2 separate regions of the Homo sapiens genome follow, and region 2 is linked to region 1. The links are contacts of gene promoters, found by promoter capture Hi-C in blood cells and fetal thymus (Javierre and others, 2016). All regions are on one chromosome and are shown on one strand. Each heading gives the region's core, a stretch centred on a gene start or on the middle of the fragment in contact. The rest is flanking DNA. Distances are from core to core; before and after follow the strand shown. Region 1 holds the start of TMEM263-DT (TMEM263 divergent transcript). Region 2 holds the start of TULP3 (TUB like protein 3).

Region 1 (7,532 bases), core at 1,802-4,301:
ACATTAAGCATTGTAGAGATGGGGAGAAATAATTCTTGCCCAGTACAATAGTATCACATAGATTTAGCAGCTGGCAAATACACTGAGCAAGGATTAACAACACAATTCCCTAAAGGGTAATTTATTCCAATAATAGAAATAAGTAAACAAACACCTCTTGGGAAACGTGTTTTCTTTGATGAATCAATCTTGTTTGTGGGTTTCAGTAATATTTCATATATAAAATTTTTATTCATAATAAAAAATTCCAAAAACAGTACATAAATTTTCCTCTGGGTACCACCCCTCTATACACCAAAGGAAGTTAAATAACACTAACACGTTATATAAAGCTTAACTACAAAATACAGTGCACAAGTTTATTGTCAAAGCCACTTAAAACCACCTGTTATTCAACAGTAGGTGCCAATTTCCCTATAATAGAAAAAGACGACTATAAATGAATTAGCTAAATTCTTCTACATATTCTACCTAAAAGAACTTTACCACATCCTCACTCCCATGTTTTAGCTTTTTTGCCAAATAACTGCAAAGAGATTCAAAAATATATGTATACAGAGCTTTACAACATATACACCAACAAGCAGAGTACATTAAAACTCCAGCTTACTGTTTTTATGTTTTTCTAGTTAAACCAACTATCAAGAAGAGTCTGCTTTTAAAGATGGCCCCTGCCCATTAAATCAACAGCAAATAGGCTACAAGAAATGCTCTCAATCTAGCAAGGAAGAAAAGGTCATCTGCCAGTAAAACTTGTAAGTGCCCACTTAGACGAGTAATAACTGACAGTGTCAAAATGGCAATTTTTAAGGGTTATCCTTAAATGAAACATTAAGCAGAATTACAATACTCTATTAAACCAGAGAACCAGTAAACCATCTTCACATTATTTCAACAGATATTTGCATTCCTACTATGTGTCAAACATTCTATTAGGCACTGAGGCATCCTTGTGAACAAGCATACAAAGGTCTTATTCTCAAGATGTTTATATATAATCCAGTGAGATATCTTCCGGAAATAGAAAAAGAGCAAATACCGAATAACTGAAACAAAGGTAAAGATTTTCCTGTAGTTAAAAAAAAAAAAATCAAACCCATGCACACACAAAGAAATCTGTATATTTGTCCAATGTAGCAACCGTTATAATTTCTAACGATGCTTTCTATAAATGGACAAATTTTTACTGAACTTGGTTTCTGGTACATCTGTTCTAACAAAGACTAAAGAAATGAAAGTGGAAAAAGCAAAACAGGATGCATATGGGTTTATCAAAGGCTACTTCTCCCTTTCTTTTTAAAAAGTTAAGCATGGGCGCGAGCGCGCACACACATACACACACACACACACACACACACACACACACACACACACACACACGGGCGCGCGCGTTTACCTGTTGGTGTTGTATCGATATTCCTGGGGAACCCCTGAGGGCACTCACACCAGCAGAAGTTTCAAAGGCTAAACAATAGCATACAGCAAATAATCACATATAGCAAATATTTTCATTTGGAATTAGCACAGTGTTCACAAGGACGCAAAAATCAAATTAAGAACCCTTCCCTTTTCTCTAGGTGTTTCTAAACCCTTCCGGGTGGCCCCTTCTCTCCCTACTGATCCCTTTAGGCACTAGCAAATCTTTTTTTTTTCTTTAGCAGTGAGTGACGTGGCAGGAGGCAGAAAATGACCCTGGAGGCGCCGTGGCTAGCACTGAGCTTGGCACCTCCTCCCTCCGCTCCACGTTGTACACCCAGCACTCCCCCCACTCCCGAAGGGCTCCAGAATTTCTATGTAAGAAGGGTTTAGGACAGGCGATCTGATTGGAAGTGGGAGCTGGGGGGTCGGTCTTGAAGCTGCGTGTGCAGAGCAGGCAGTTTTTATTTAGACTGGGAGGCAGTGACGGCACGGATGGGTGCTCCAGCCCTCCCTGTCACCCCTGGGCGCGGCCAGCACCCTCTCCATTCCCACTTTTACTTTAGGTTAGGCGTGGAGATACAGCCTTCCTACCCAGGAAGAGCTATGGGGGTGTCCACTGGGAAAAAGTCTTGTGTGCCTGAACCCAAAAGGGAGGTTTAGCAACAGGTCAGGAGTTGGCAGGGCGAGGAAGCCCGGTACCCAAGCCCCTCCGCTGCATCCCTCTCCCAGGCTGCTGATGCCCCTCACCTTCCTCCTCCGCCCCCAACCCCGAACCCCCAGATGCTAAGAAGTCAGGCGGAGGCTTTCCAGGGGTGCGCAAGCTCCAATCGCGGCGGGGCAGTCAGCGACGTATAAGGAGGAGTAGCCCCAGAAGCGAACCTCCATCCGCCCCCAACTTCGTCCCGCCCCTCCCCCTTTCCCGCTGGGGCCTCGCCAAGGCCCCGCTGGGCAGCCAGGCCGGGCACTGGGAGGTGAGGGGCAGGGGCGCCGACGGCAGAGGGCGACGGAGGAGGGCAGGAAGCCGGGACTGCGCCCCTGCCCTCGCATCCCGACTCACTCACCGCCGGGGTCGCGGCCAGCGCTAGGGCTGGGGCCGGGCGGAGTGAGCGGGCCGGCGCAGAGGAGAGCTGAGGCGGCCTGGGCGGCAGCGGCGGCCGGCACAACCCCGGGCAGTCGCGGCTCCAGAGGCGTCCTCTCAGGATGTGGAGCTGGAAGACTGTGGCGGCGGTGGTGGAGGCGGAGGCCTCTGGCTGCGGACGTGGCGCCCGACGCGACCCGCCCCCTCCGCCGCCTCCTCAGCTCCCGCCTCCTCCCGCGGCTCCAGTTCCGACGCGCACGCGCGCTCGTGCAGCCCGGGCCCCTCCCGCGCCCACCGGGCACACGCCCACCCGTTCTCGCAGGGTCCGGCCCTCCCAGCAGTCCCCAGCCGGCTGTGTCCCAATTGCGCACGCGCGACGCTCCGAGGCCCGCTCCCGCCCCTTCGCCCCCTGGACGCCTCCGTGGGAACCCCCGGCCGGCCTGCGCGCCCCTCCTCCGGGGGTCTCCCCGCCTTCTTCCCGCCACCATCCAATCAAATCGGGCGAGGGGCGCGAAGCCCGGGAGACGCGTAGGCCGCGGCCCCCAGGCCCGGTGTTTTGACGTCGGCGGTGCCCGCGTTCCGCGCCGAGTAACGGTCTTCGGAATTCAGAGCCTTCGCCTTAGGGAAGGTGGGACGGTCGCCAGTTTCTCCAGCACTTTCTTCGTCCAGGGACGTCAACCTCCCTTGCATGCTGTCCTCAGGGACTGACAGCGGGGCCTGCTCAGAAGTTCTCGTCGGGACTCTCTACAGGCCTTTGTGATTAAGTGCTAGGGGTGAGGAGAGACGTGGCTTATTTATGTGTTTTTCAGTTTGTTATGATTTTTTTTTTTTTAATTTTACTTCTCCCTGCCCTAGAATTGAGCTCCTTGAGAGTAAAAACCCGCCTGGGTCGCCATCACCCTAGGCTTGGTGCAGGGCCTGCCAGGCGCTCGAATTTGTTGAAGAGGTGGGTGTTCAGTATCGAAAGAGCCGCGGATTGTACATTAGAAAGCCTGGCTTTGCGCCGCGTCCTTGCCACTTGCTGACCAGGCCCCTCCACGTGGTCCCCGCCGGGGCAGCAGCTCTCCTCACCCGTCCAAAGGCACGGGGAGGCGCGTGGCGGCCCCGCCAGAGCTGAGCCCCCTGGGATGTGAGGCCGTCTCGCTCTGAGCTTCAGAGCAGGGTTGCAGGAGACACCTCAGAAGGTCGTTTTGAGGACGGGAGGAGATGAACTGCTCAAAGCCTGCTTAACTAGATAAATGGTATCGATTAACTTTTCTTTGACTCCCTTTCCACACCTATAAAATGAAGATGACGGGAAACTTGTCATACTTTTTTTGTGGTGGGTGGGAAAGGTCTTTATGAACTGTGAAGTCCTATGCAAACGTGAGATGTTTCCTTTCGCAATCTGATTAGCGAAGCAAAAACACGCGAGTCAAAAACATACACAGAAAGCAAAAAAAAAAAATTCACAAAATGGTTTATCAACTGCAGAATATTCAGGATGGTGGAACTGAATGGTAACTACTGACAACATAGCTCAGAAAGGACGTGCTAAAACATGCTGGATGAAGCTAACTTTGATCCAGGTCTTAAATGGAATGGACTATAGTTTATAGCTTCAACCTAATCATTAACTTATGAAATCAGAGAATTAAGGCCACTTAAGCCACTGTGCTCAGACTGTCAAGATATTTAGTTTCTCAAAGCAGAAAGAGGAAATTAAATACTCTTGTCAATTCAACATATGGGTTGGATGATTAGCAGGATCCGTGGATTGTTGTTTATCCAGTATGTGAAGAAACGGATATCCTCTGTTTTCTCGTTATTACACAAACTTCTATCCTTAATATGTGACCTTTCAAGGTTGAACTCTAGGTAAAATTATGAAGTGCACAATTACGTCTTGTTTCTTCTTCCCTTTGCACGTCGTTTTACAAGAGAATCTAATTATTATTAAAGTACAAATGACTGACAAGATTGTAGCCACTCCTGGGAGATTTTGCATTTTTACGGTTATTAAAAGCCATAACTCAAAGCAGCAGTTGAATCTGTTTCATAAACTAACTAAGATTTAAAAGAGCTCCTTTGGGAGGTCATGAGTTCATCAGAAACTTCTGGTGTAGGAGTTCAGCCTATAAAACAAACAAATACATGACTTGTAGTATTTCTTCGTTTTATAGTCTGAACTCCTCTAAGTTCTTGATTCCCATTCTGTGACCTCCCTTTCTTAGATTGTTAAAATAAAATACAGATGACTCACGCCTTTAATCCCAGCACCTCGGGAGGCTGAGTCGGGAAGATCACTTGAGCCTAGGAGTTTAAGACCAGCAAGGGCAACATGGGGAGATCCCATCTCTTAAAAAAATAATAATAATAATTGAGCATGGTGGCACCCTCCTGTAGTCCCAGCTATTTGGGATACTGAAGCAGGAGGATTGCTAGAGCCTGGGAGGTCAAAGCTGCACTGAGCCGTGGTCACACCACTGCATTCCAGCCTGGACAACAGAGTGAGACCCTGTTTCAAGAAAAATAAAATGAAACATTTATTTCTGGATGTTATTTTGAAAGATTTTGTCATGTCTTAATGAGCCCTGGCCACGTAATCACAGCATTTTGGGAGGCCAAGGTGGGAGGATTGCTTAAAGCCAGGAGTTTGAGACTAGCCGGGTCAATATAGTGAGACCCTGTTTCTACAAAAAATAAATAAATAAATAGCCAGGTGTGGTGGCACGCACCTGTAGTCCTAGCTACTTGGGAAGTTGAGGCAGGAAGGTCACTTGAGCCAGGATTTCAAGGCTGCAGTGAGCTATGATTGTGCCTCTGCTCTCCAGCCTGGGTGACAAAGTGAGACCCTCTCTCTTAAAATAACAATAATGATGAATTCTTAGTGCCTTCAGGCAATAAAATTCTTTTAACAAAATTCTTAATACACATATCAATTACCCAGCCTCTTAAGTGACTGAGTTTTCTTCTAGTTGGGTACACACACAGTCTTTTTGCCTTATTGAAAAACTTAGAAATTAGATGTGGCATTGCTTAACATGGTGGGGTGGTTCAAAGAGGACCAGAAAGAAGGCAGAAACCAGTAATGTTAAAGCAAGAAATTATTTCTAGGCTGATAGTACGCTGAAGTTTAAAAAGCTCCAGCCCAACCTTCTACCCAACATGTGAGTCTGTCTCCTGTTATGTGCACAATCATAGTTTTCATCATTATCAAACACTCTTCCCAGGGTTTCAGTATGGACTCATTTAAGTAAGAAGCCTACTTGTTGCAAGGTGCGCACGTTTTTCCTGTTTCACCATGTTTTCATGAGTGTAATGCATTATCCTTGCATTAAATTAACAGCTTTATAAAAGTTAGTTACCCCCCAGTGTAAATCATTATGCTTTCTATCCTCACTTTCTTCACTGCTCTTTGCCATTCCTGGCACAATCACCTGTGCTATTGGTTTTCCTTTGCCTGCACCAATATCCTTAATTTTTCCTATGATACGGCAGATTTATTTGACACAGCTCCTAACCTCGATCATCTGATTTCTCTCAATCCAATGAAGCAAGCACATTATATTCTAATATAGGAAATCCTATATTCATATGAGGAAACCGAGGCATAGAGAAGTTGGATAATTTACCCTGGGTCCCACAGGCTAGTGAAGAGCAGGCTTTAGAATCAAACCCAATTTTGTCTGACTCTAGAGCCCAAGTTCTTAATCACTATATTCCGAGAAAGAGAAAAGCAGTTTCTGACATGCAGTAGATGCTGGCACACTAGGCTTTGGTATTCTTGTTGAACAAAAATAATTTTAGAGAACATCAACATCAGACGAGGCCACTCCATGATCATGGTGGATCAGGACAAAAATAAGACTACTTCATAATCGTGTGTGAATGTAGACAAAAACACAAATGCTGTCCAACCCACCAAATGAAATACACAAAATGAAAATACCAAACTAGTCTACGTAGCTGTTGCCTCTTTGCCAATGACAGCTTAAGCCTCATTCCAGTCTTCCCTCTTTCTAGATAAGATTTATTAAGATACCCAATCATAGAATTACCCCCACTTCCTGACAATATCCTGTTTAGAGCATAGAGCAAAGTTCCACCACCTTAAACCCTCTATCAGATCACCTAACACAAACCCAATCTTACTAAAAGATTTTTTTGAACACCTTACCAGTATGCCACGTGGTTCCCCGTGATGTGTTCTTCCTTGCTGCAATGAGTAGTAAATTCGGCTTGTTCAACCACAGGTGTGTTCCTGGTGATCTTTGACTAGAAAGCATTGACAGTTCTTTCTGGACTATTCTATATCATGCATTTCTATGGAGTAGAAAGCATACTTATTAGGTATTTCTGCCAGTCAAAGGACTGGAAACTGCCCTTTCATCTCCAGCCATAGGATTGTCACACCAAAGCTAGAAGGTTCCCTTTCTTTTTGTGGATCATATATAGAGTGTCTGCTAAATTGAGCCTTATTAAAAGATAGTGAAAAGAAGCACATGTTGGAATAATTGGACATCATTTTTAAAACAAAAGCTTAACACCTATAAACTCATGCCTTTCACCATATGCAAAATAATTCAAAATGGATCATAGACCTAAATGTGAAAATATAAAACTTTTAGAAGAAAACATAGGAGAACATTTTTATGATCTTGAATTAGGCAGAGTTTTCTTAGGTACAACAAAAAACACAATCCATGAAAGAAAGAAATTTATAAAAACTTGCTGTTTGGATAACACTTGCTCTTTGGATGTCACTTAAGAAAACAAAAGAACAAGCAACAGACTGGGAGAAAATATTTGCAAAACATACCTTTTTTTTTTTTTTCTTTGAGACGGAGTCTCGCACTGTCACCCAGGCTGAAGTGCAGTGCACAATCTCGGCTCACTGCAAGCTCTGCCTCCTGGATTCACGCCATTCTCCTACCTTAGCCTCCCGAATAGCTGGGACTGCAGGCGCCTGCCACCATGCCCAGCTAATTTTCGTTTGTTTGTTTGTTTGTTTGTTTTTTAGTAGAGACGGGGTTTCACTATGTTAGCCAGGATG
Region 2 (7,532 bases), core at 2,813-5,312, about 100 Mb after region 1:
CAGGGTTTCACCATGCTGCCCAGGCTGGTCTCTAACTCCTAACCTCAGGTGATCTGCCTGCCTTGCCCTCCCAAAGTGCTGGGATTACAGGCATGAGCCACCGCACTGGGCCTAGAATTTTTTTTTTTTTTTTTTTTAAGAGACAGGGTCTCGGGCCAGGCAGAGTGGCTCATGCCTTTCCAGCATTTTGGGAGGCCGAGGTGGGAGAATCACTTGAGGCCCGAGTTCAAGACTAGCCTGGGCAATACAGCAAGACCCTATGTCTTGAGAGAGAGAACAAACGAACATGACAGACCAACAGACAGACAGGGGGTCTCACTATGTTGCCCAGGCTGGTCTTGAGCTACTGGCCTCAAGTGATCTCCTTCCTCCTGCCTCAGCCTCCCTAAGTGCTAGGATTATAGGCCTGAACCACTGTGCCTGGGAAGATTTTTGTTTTACAATACTTCTTAATACTACAAATGAATGTGTTACCTTAATCTTCACTTCAGTGAGAAGACTAATGATTTCATCATAATACTTTATCACCTTTCAAAAGCTTTCGAATGTTGGAAACCCAGAAATTTCTAATAATTTCCCCTGTATTAAAAAAATCTTTAGGCTGGGCGTAGTGGCTCATGCCTGTAATCCCAGTACTTTAGGAGGCCGAGGCAGGTGCATCACCTGAGGTAAGGGGTTCGAGACCAGCCTGGCCAACATGGTGAAATCCTGTCCCTACTAAAAATACAAAAATTAGCCAGGGGTGGTGGCAGGCACCTGTAATCCTACCTACTCAGGAGGCTGAGGCAGGGAGAACTGCTTGAACCCAGGAGGTGGAGGTTGCCATGAGCCGAGATCCTGCCACTGCACTCCAGCCTAGGCGACAGAGCGAGACTCCAAAAAAAAAATTTAAAAGTCCAAAATTGTATTGTTATTGAAACATTGTTAAAATGTGTTGTCACTCTGCTAGTTGCACTTAAGTACAGTTCTACTTAGTGAATATTTAATACTGCCTGCCAGGAATTATATTAAATATATATTATTTTTCACATATGATGTGTGATAATTTTCACGATAACCTTGACAAAGTAGGCACTATAATCTCATTTTACAGACAGATATGAAACTCATAGATGCTCTAAATGAATTTCGGGAGAAAGGAGGTGAACTCCTTTCATATGAGTTTCATATCTCTCTGTAAAATGAGATTATAGCACCTACCTTGTAGATTTATTGAAGTTTCTTCCTGCAAAGCTAAATAGCAATAATTTTATTTTTCCAGGAGCATATTTGAAAAATATTTCTTGCTTTGTTACAGCCTTATTTTCTACACATCACAGGAAAGCAATTTTAAACTTACAACTATAGTTCATATTCTAAAGGTCAAACAGCTGATCAGCGAAAGAGCCCAAATTCAATCACAAGTCTCACTCCCAATCTACCTGAATGTGTTAAACCACACGACTGAACACGTGTATTAAAATGGTCAGCAGAGACAGGAATTTCATTCTCTGGTATTTCAATATGTTCATTAAAAATGCCAGCTGACTTGCTATTTTTAGGTAGAACTTCCAAGCCAGTGAATGGATTTTTAAGCAGCCCTGGGGAGGAGTGCCCTGAATAACGACATTTAGGTCAACCATACTGCATATACAACAGGGGTCCCCTAAGATGATAACACCACATTGTCAGCCAGGCACAGTGGCTCACGCCTGTAATCCCAGCACTTTGGGAGGCAGAGGCGGGTGGATCACTTGAGGTCAGGAGTTCAAGACCAGTTTGACCAACATGGTAAAACCCCGTTTCTACTAAAAATACAAAATTAGCTGGGCATGGTGGTGCACGCCTGTAATCCCAACTACTTGGGAGGCTGAGGCAGGAGAATCACTTGAACCTGGGAGGCAGAGATTGCAGTGAGCCGAGATCATGCCATTGCACTCCAGCCTGAGTAACAAAGATGCGACTCCGTCTCAAAAAAAAAAAAAAGTATTCTCACTGTACCTTTGCTATGTTTAGATATGCTAATACTTACCAGTGTGTTCCAATTGCCTACAATATTCAGTACAGTAACAGGCTGTATAGCTTTGTAGCCTAGGAGCAACAGACTGTACCACAGGGCCTAGGTAGGTAGTAGGATATCCCATCAAGGTTTGTGTACACTATGACGTTCACACAACAAAATCCACTAATGACACATTTCTCAGAATGCATCCCCATCATTAAGTGGCAAATAACTGTATAGAGTGAAAGAGGCATCAGATTTCATCATGTTCAAACTGATAACAATTTCAGATAATTGTGGAAAGAGCTATTAACAAAGTATGTTTCCTAACTCAATTGACAAATAGGTTCACCTTGTCCAAATCCTAAATGTCAATATTCGAAGGCCATGTTTTTACACATACTGACACACCAAGAACACATCTGGCTTGAACAAAATATTGCTTCTGAGAAAAGACACATAAAGGTCATATGAGAAGTGTCAGAAAAGAATTCCTTTGACATCTATCCTTCCTCATCTAGGGAGAAATGTTAGTATTCTAAGCTCAGCTGTCCTCTACTTGAAAGACGGCCACAATCTGGAGCTAACTTAATTGAAGCCAGGGAATGAACATCCATTTCCTAGGAGGCCCATTTAGTAGAGACACAATCAGAGCAGGGAGAACTGCCTGGGGAGAGGGAGGCAATGAGAAGCAAAGGCTGGCCGCTGATTTGAGCATTCCCATAGCCCCAAAGAATGCTGCAGGGAAAACTATTTTAGAGTAAACCCCTCCTGATTTTGCAAGTACCACACAGCAAAAGCAAAAAGCATTCTTTTGAGTGAACTAAACAAAAAGGCTATTTAAGATGTATGATTTAATCCAGAAGTTAAAAGAATGCATTTATTACTTGTAGATTCAAACAGACATTACTCAGAACTTAAGTTCGTTTTAACTTTTGCCCAATTCTCCCTTCTCAGGGGTTATATTTTCTCTCTTCGGGAATGTTATTTATTTTCACTATTTCTTATTTTTATTTCATTTTATTTTATTTTTCAAATGGAGTTTTGCTCTTGTCGCCCAGGCTGGAGTGCAGTGGTGTGATCTCGGCTCACCGCAACCTCCGCCTCCCAGGTTCAAACAATTCTTCTGCCTCAGTTCCCGGAGTAGCTGGGACTATACGCACACACCACCATAACTGGCTAATTTTTGTATTTTTAGTAGAGACAGGGTTTCGCCATGTTGGTTGGGCTGGTCTTGAACTCCTGACCTCGTGATCTGCCCACCTCCGCCTCCCAAAGTGCTGGGATTACAGGCATGAGCCACTGCACCTAGCCTATTATTGAGCTTTTTATCTTGACAGATCTCTTTTTTGTGTGCGTGCGTGTGTGTGTGTGTGTGTGTGTGTGTGTTTTTGAGACGGAGTCTTGCTCTGTCACCCAGGCTAGAGTGCAGTGGCACAGTCTTGGCTCACTGCAACCTCCACCTCCCTGGTTCAAGCGATTCTCCTGCCTCAGCTCCTGAGTAGCTAAGATTATAGGCACCTGCCACCATGCCTGGCTAAGTTTTGCATTTTTAGTAGAGATAGGGTTTCTCCATGTTGGTCAGGCTGGTCTTGAACTCGTGACCTCAGGTGATTTCCCCCCCCCCGCCCCGCCCCCCCGCCATCTCGGCCTCCCATGGTGCTGGGATTACAAGTGTGAGCCACCATGCCCAGCCTACTGTTTATATTTCTAAAGAGAAATCATGGTATATGGACAAACCACCGACTGGGATTTCTTAGATGACTCCAGCTCACAAGGTCACACCACAGTGGGAAGCACGCCTTCAATTCTCAATTCTCTATCACTTACAAAAGGCCAGATAGGGCTCAAGTTCCAGCACCAGCCAACCCCCGTCATCTCCAGGGAATCTATATTATAAAATGCCTAGCCTCAACAAAGGTCCTGAGTGTTGTTTCAAATTTCACCTCCAATTTTCACTAAACATTTCTGATATAAGAAAATAGGCCAAGCCTGGTCGCTCACACCTGTAATCCCAGCACTTTGGGAGGCTGAGGCAGGAGGATCACTTGAGACCAGGACTTCAAGACCATCCTGGGCAACATAGTGAGACCTTGTCTCTACAAAAAAATAAAAATTAAAAAAAATATTTGTAGTTAATAATTTCTCTATTTTGTTGAAAATAAATCTGCTTCATGATAAAAGTTACATAATTCCAAGAAAAAAAAAAAACACAGAAAACCTAAAAGTTGGTTGTTATCCTTACATTGAAAGGCAGTAATACAGAAAATTCTATCAATGTATTTCATCAAAAACATTAAACAGCCAGGCAGGGTTGGGGGGCTCACGCCTGTAATCCCAGCACTTTGGGAGGCCGAGGCGGGCGAATCCCCTGAGGTCGGGAGTTCAAGACCAGCCTGACCAACATGGAGAAACCCCCTCTCTACTAAAAATATAAAAATTAGCCGGGCACGGTGGCGCATGCCTGTAATCCCAGCTACTCAGGAGGCTGAGGCTGGAGAATCACTGGAACCCAGGAGGCAAGTAAGCCAAGATGGCGCCACTGCACTCCAGCCTGGGCGACGAGAGCGAAACTCCGTTTGGAAAAAAAAAAAAAAAAACACATTAAACACACAACCTGAAGCCCAAAAAGAGAAAAAAGCAAGAGACTCCCTCTTAGTAACAAATGAGTTAAACACTGATAGAAGTTGCACTAACATTACAGAGGGCAGGAGAAACATTTGGTGACTCACACATTCCCCTTTGATGTCAATTTTACAATTTAGGGCCAAGTGCAGTGGCTCAGGCCTGTAATCCCAGAAGTTTTGGAGGCTGAGGCAGGCAGATCACTTGAGCTCACTTCGACACCAGCCTGAGCAACATGACGAAACCCCACCTCTACAAAAAATACAAGAAATTAGCCAGGTGGTGCCACGCACCTGTGGTCCCAGCTACTAGGGATGCTGAGGTGGGAGGATCGCTTAACCTGGGGAAGAGGTTGAAATTAGTTGAGATCGCCCACCACATCCTAGCCTGGGCGACAGAGTGAGACCCTGTCTCAAAAAAAAAAAAAAATTAAAATTAAAAGAAAAGAAAATAAAATTTAAAGAGCTAGTTTCTTTCGGAAGAACAAGGAGGGGGCCAGGCGCAGTGGCTCACGCCTGTAATCCCAGCACTTTGGGAGGCCGAGGTGGGCAGATCACCAGGTCAAGAAATCGAGACCATCTTGGCCAACATGGTGAAGCCCCGTCTCTACTAAAAATACAAAAATTAGCTGGGCGTGGTGGCGCGTGCCTATAGTCCCAGCTACTCAGGAGGCTGAGGCAGGAGAATCACTTGAACCCGGGAAGCGGAGGCTGCAGTTAGCCGAGATCGCACCACTGCACTACCGCCTGGCGACAGAGAGAGACTCCGTCTCAGAAAAAAAAAAGGAAGGAAAAGCCTCTTGGTCCCAATTTCAAAGTCAATCCCGCATCCCGTTTTTTTTTCCCCAAAAAATCTGAGTCATATCAAACATCTGGTACTCATGAAATTTACTACTTTAAATTCATGGAATTAAAACTGAGCGCCCACAACTGAACAAATATTTTCGGAATTCAACCAGAGATGCTGAATACTAACTTTATCTCCTCTACCACTTACACCTGTAAATGTAGTTTTCTTCCTCGACTTGGGAAAAAAAAAAGCACAGTGAACAAATTTCAGAGTGCAGCTATCACCTCAATAGAACTTGACGAAAAAGGAAAATACATGTTCTTTACCCCCAACAACTTTGTGACAATTTTTAAAAATGGTTTAAAATTGTTTAAATATCTACTAGTGGAAATATCAAACTAAATACTTACACGTCAAATCATTTTTTTTTTAAGGTGACAGGATGTCACTGCGTTGCCCAGGCTAGCGAGCTCAGTGGCCCAACACAGGAGTTTGGAACTCCTGGGCTCAAGGAATCCTCCCTCCTCAGTCTCTCGAGTCGCTGGAACTACAGGCGCGCACCACCGTGTCCGGCCAAATTTTAATTGATTGACTGATTGATTTTATTTTATTTTATTTTTTTCTAGAGATGGGGGTCTCGCTATCTTGTCCAGGCTGGTCTCGAACTCCTGAGACCAAGCGATCCTCCTGCCTTGGCCTCCCAAAGTGCTGGGGATAATAGACGTGTTCCAAGGCGCCTGGCCCCAAATCTTTGTCTTGGTAATGGAATAAAAAGCGGGGTATACAGTTGGCGTGTAGGGCTTAAATCCTCAGATGACGCCAAAGTTTCTAACCAATGATTTCAAACGGCTTCCCATTAACTTCTCATTAACCTAGCGAACAAGAAAGTGACACGCTGAGATTTTGGATCCTTTTTTTTCCGAGGCTCTCCCTCTGGCAGAGAAAGAGGCGCACAAACAAGGGGTGTGGCCCACTGGCAAATCAGTCAGACCATCCCGAATCAGGGACAAACACTGGAAAGCAGAGAGGAAAAAGAAGTTTCGCGTTTCCGCTCCTCGGACTCTGCTCCAGAATTCAGCTTTACCCGTCCGAAGCAGCGGCGTCAGAACAAGCTACTAAACATCACCCGCACCGCCTCCCGGGAGGGGCTGGGTCCCCTCTCGGCTGTGACACCGCCGGGCAGTGGGAGCTGAGCGGGGCCAGCGCCTCTCCCCCGAGGGAAACCCGAGGCCCAGAGGGGCCGAGGGAGCCCGTCACGAAAACTCCAGAAGTTCCTAAGCAGGGACCTGAACCAAAGGTCTCTGCCCACGGCGCGGGATGTAGTGCCGCCGCTCCACTTGAGAAAGGGGTCCCCACACGGGAGTAGGGCGAGGGGGTCGCCTCCCGCCGCCGAAACCAGTCCCTCCCTGAGTCGCCAAGTCCCGAGTCCCGCCCTCTCCCCGCAGGGCTCCCGGAGAGGACCTCCGCCTTCTCGCTTCGCCCCTCCGCCTCGCTCAGGAGGAGACCTGCCACGGCCCTGTCTGACCTGTCGCCGCTGGGACTGAGCCGGCAGCGCGAAGCCTCCATGCCCGCCACCGAGGAAGCCCCCACCACGTACACACTCTTCCCCGCCGTCGCTAGAGTGGCTAGGCTGGCACGCCGCCGCGTCCCGCCTCCTGGCAACCGCGTTCCACACTGTCGCCGCCGCCGATTGGTCCGTGTTCTCGTGGCTCCTGTCTCATTGGCTATTGCCGGGGCCCAACGATGCGGGAGGGTTGCTAAGGGGCGGGAGGCGAGCGGGAGTTAAACGCGCCTGCGCGGGGGTGGGGTGACGCGAGCTAAGGCTTGGTCCTCTGGAGCGCCTCGCGGGGCCGGTACTGAGCGGGAAGACTTTGTTTTTGCCTGGGCCTCGCCCGCCGCGCGGCCAGCAGGCGAGTCCGGTCAGAGGAGTCTCCTATACCGCACCAACCGCCACGCACGCAACGGCTCCTCGCACCCCCGCCATTTTTACCGAGCCCACCCAGAGCGCTTCCCGAGGTCTGCCCTGTGAGGATGTACAGACCTCTGCCGCTTCCCATTCTGGCCCCTGCCCTGATACCAGCGGCCTTCGTGGACCCCCTCTGGTACCCTCTCCACTCCATCAGTCACTCCCAGTGAA

Evidence for each region. Contacts are between HindIII fragments. The CHiCAGO score rates a contact against its expected background, and 5 or more counts as called.
Region 2: a contact is called between a fragment that was not itself captured here and the fragment with the promoter of TMEM263-DT in region 1, in 1 of 17 cell types (non-activated CD4 T cells). The highest score is 5.7, in non-activated CD4 T cells.

The regions. Positions count from the first base shown.
Region 1 is chr12:106,951,014-106,958,545 of GRCh38, reverse strand. It overlaps TMEM263-DT (TMEM263 divergent transcript), which reads left to right and starts at 3,051. Exons shown (of 1, transcript NR_185933.1): 1 at 3,051-5,033. It overlaps TMEM263 (transmembrane protein 263), which reads right to left and starts at 2,639. Exons shown (of 4, transcript NM_152261.4): 1 at 2,481-2,639; 2 at 1,397-1,464. RefSeq lists enhancers at 1,692-1,751, 2,681-2,975 and a silencer at 2,252-3,011. The HindIII fragment of the contact is 6,686 bases long and covers 335-7,020 here.
Region 2 is chr12:2,890,377-2,897,908 of GRCh38, reverse strand. TULP3 (TUB like protein 3) reads right to left here and starts at 7,018. Exons shown (of 11, transcript NM_003324.5): 1 at 6,921-7,018. The coding sequence starts at 6,961. RefSeq lists a silencer at 7,123-7,172 and an enhancer at 7,443-7,532. The HindIII fragment of the contact is 7,043 bases long and covers 541-7,532 here.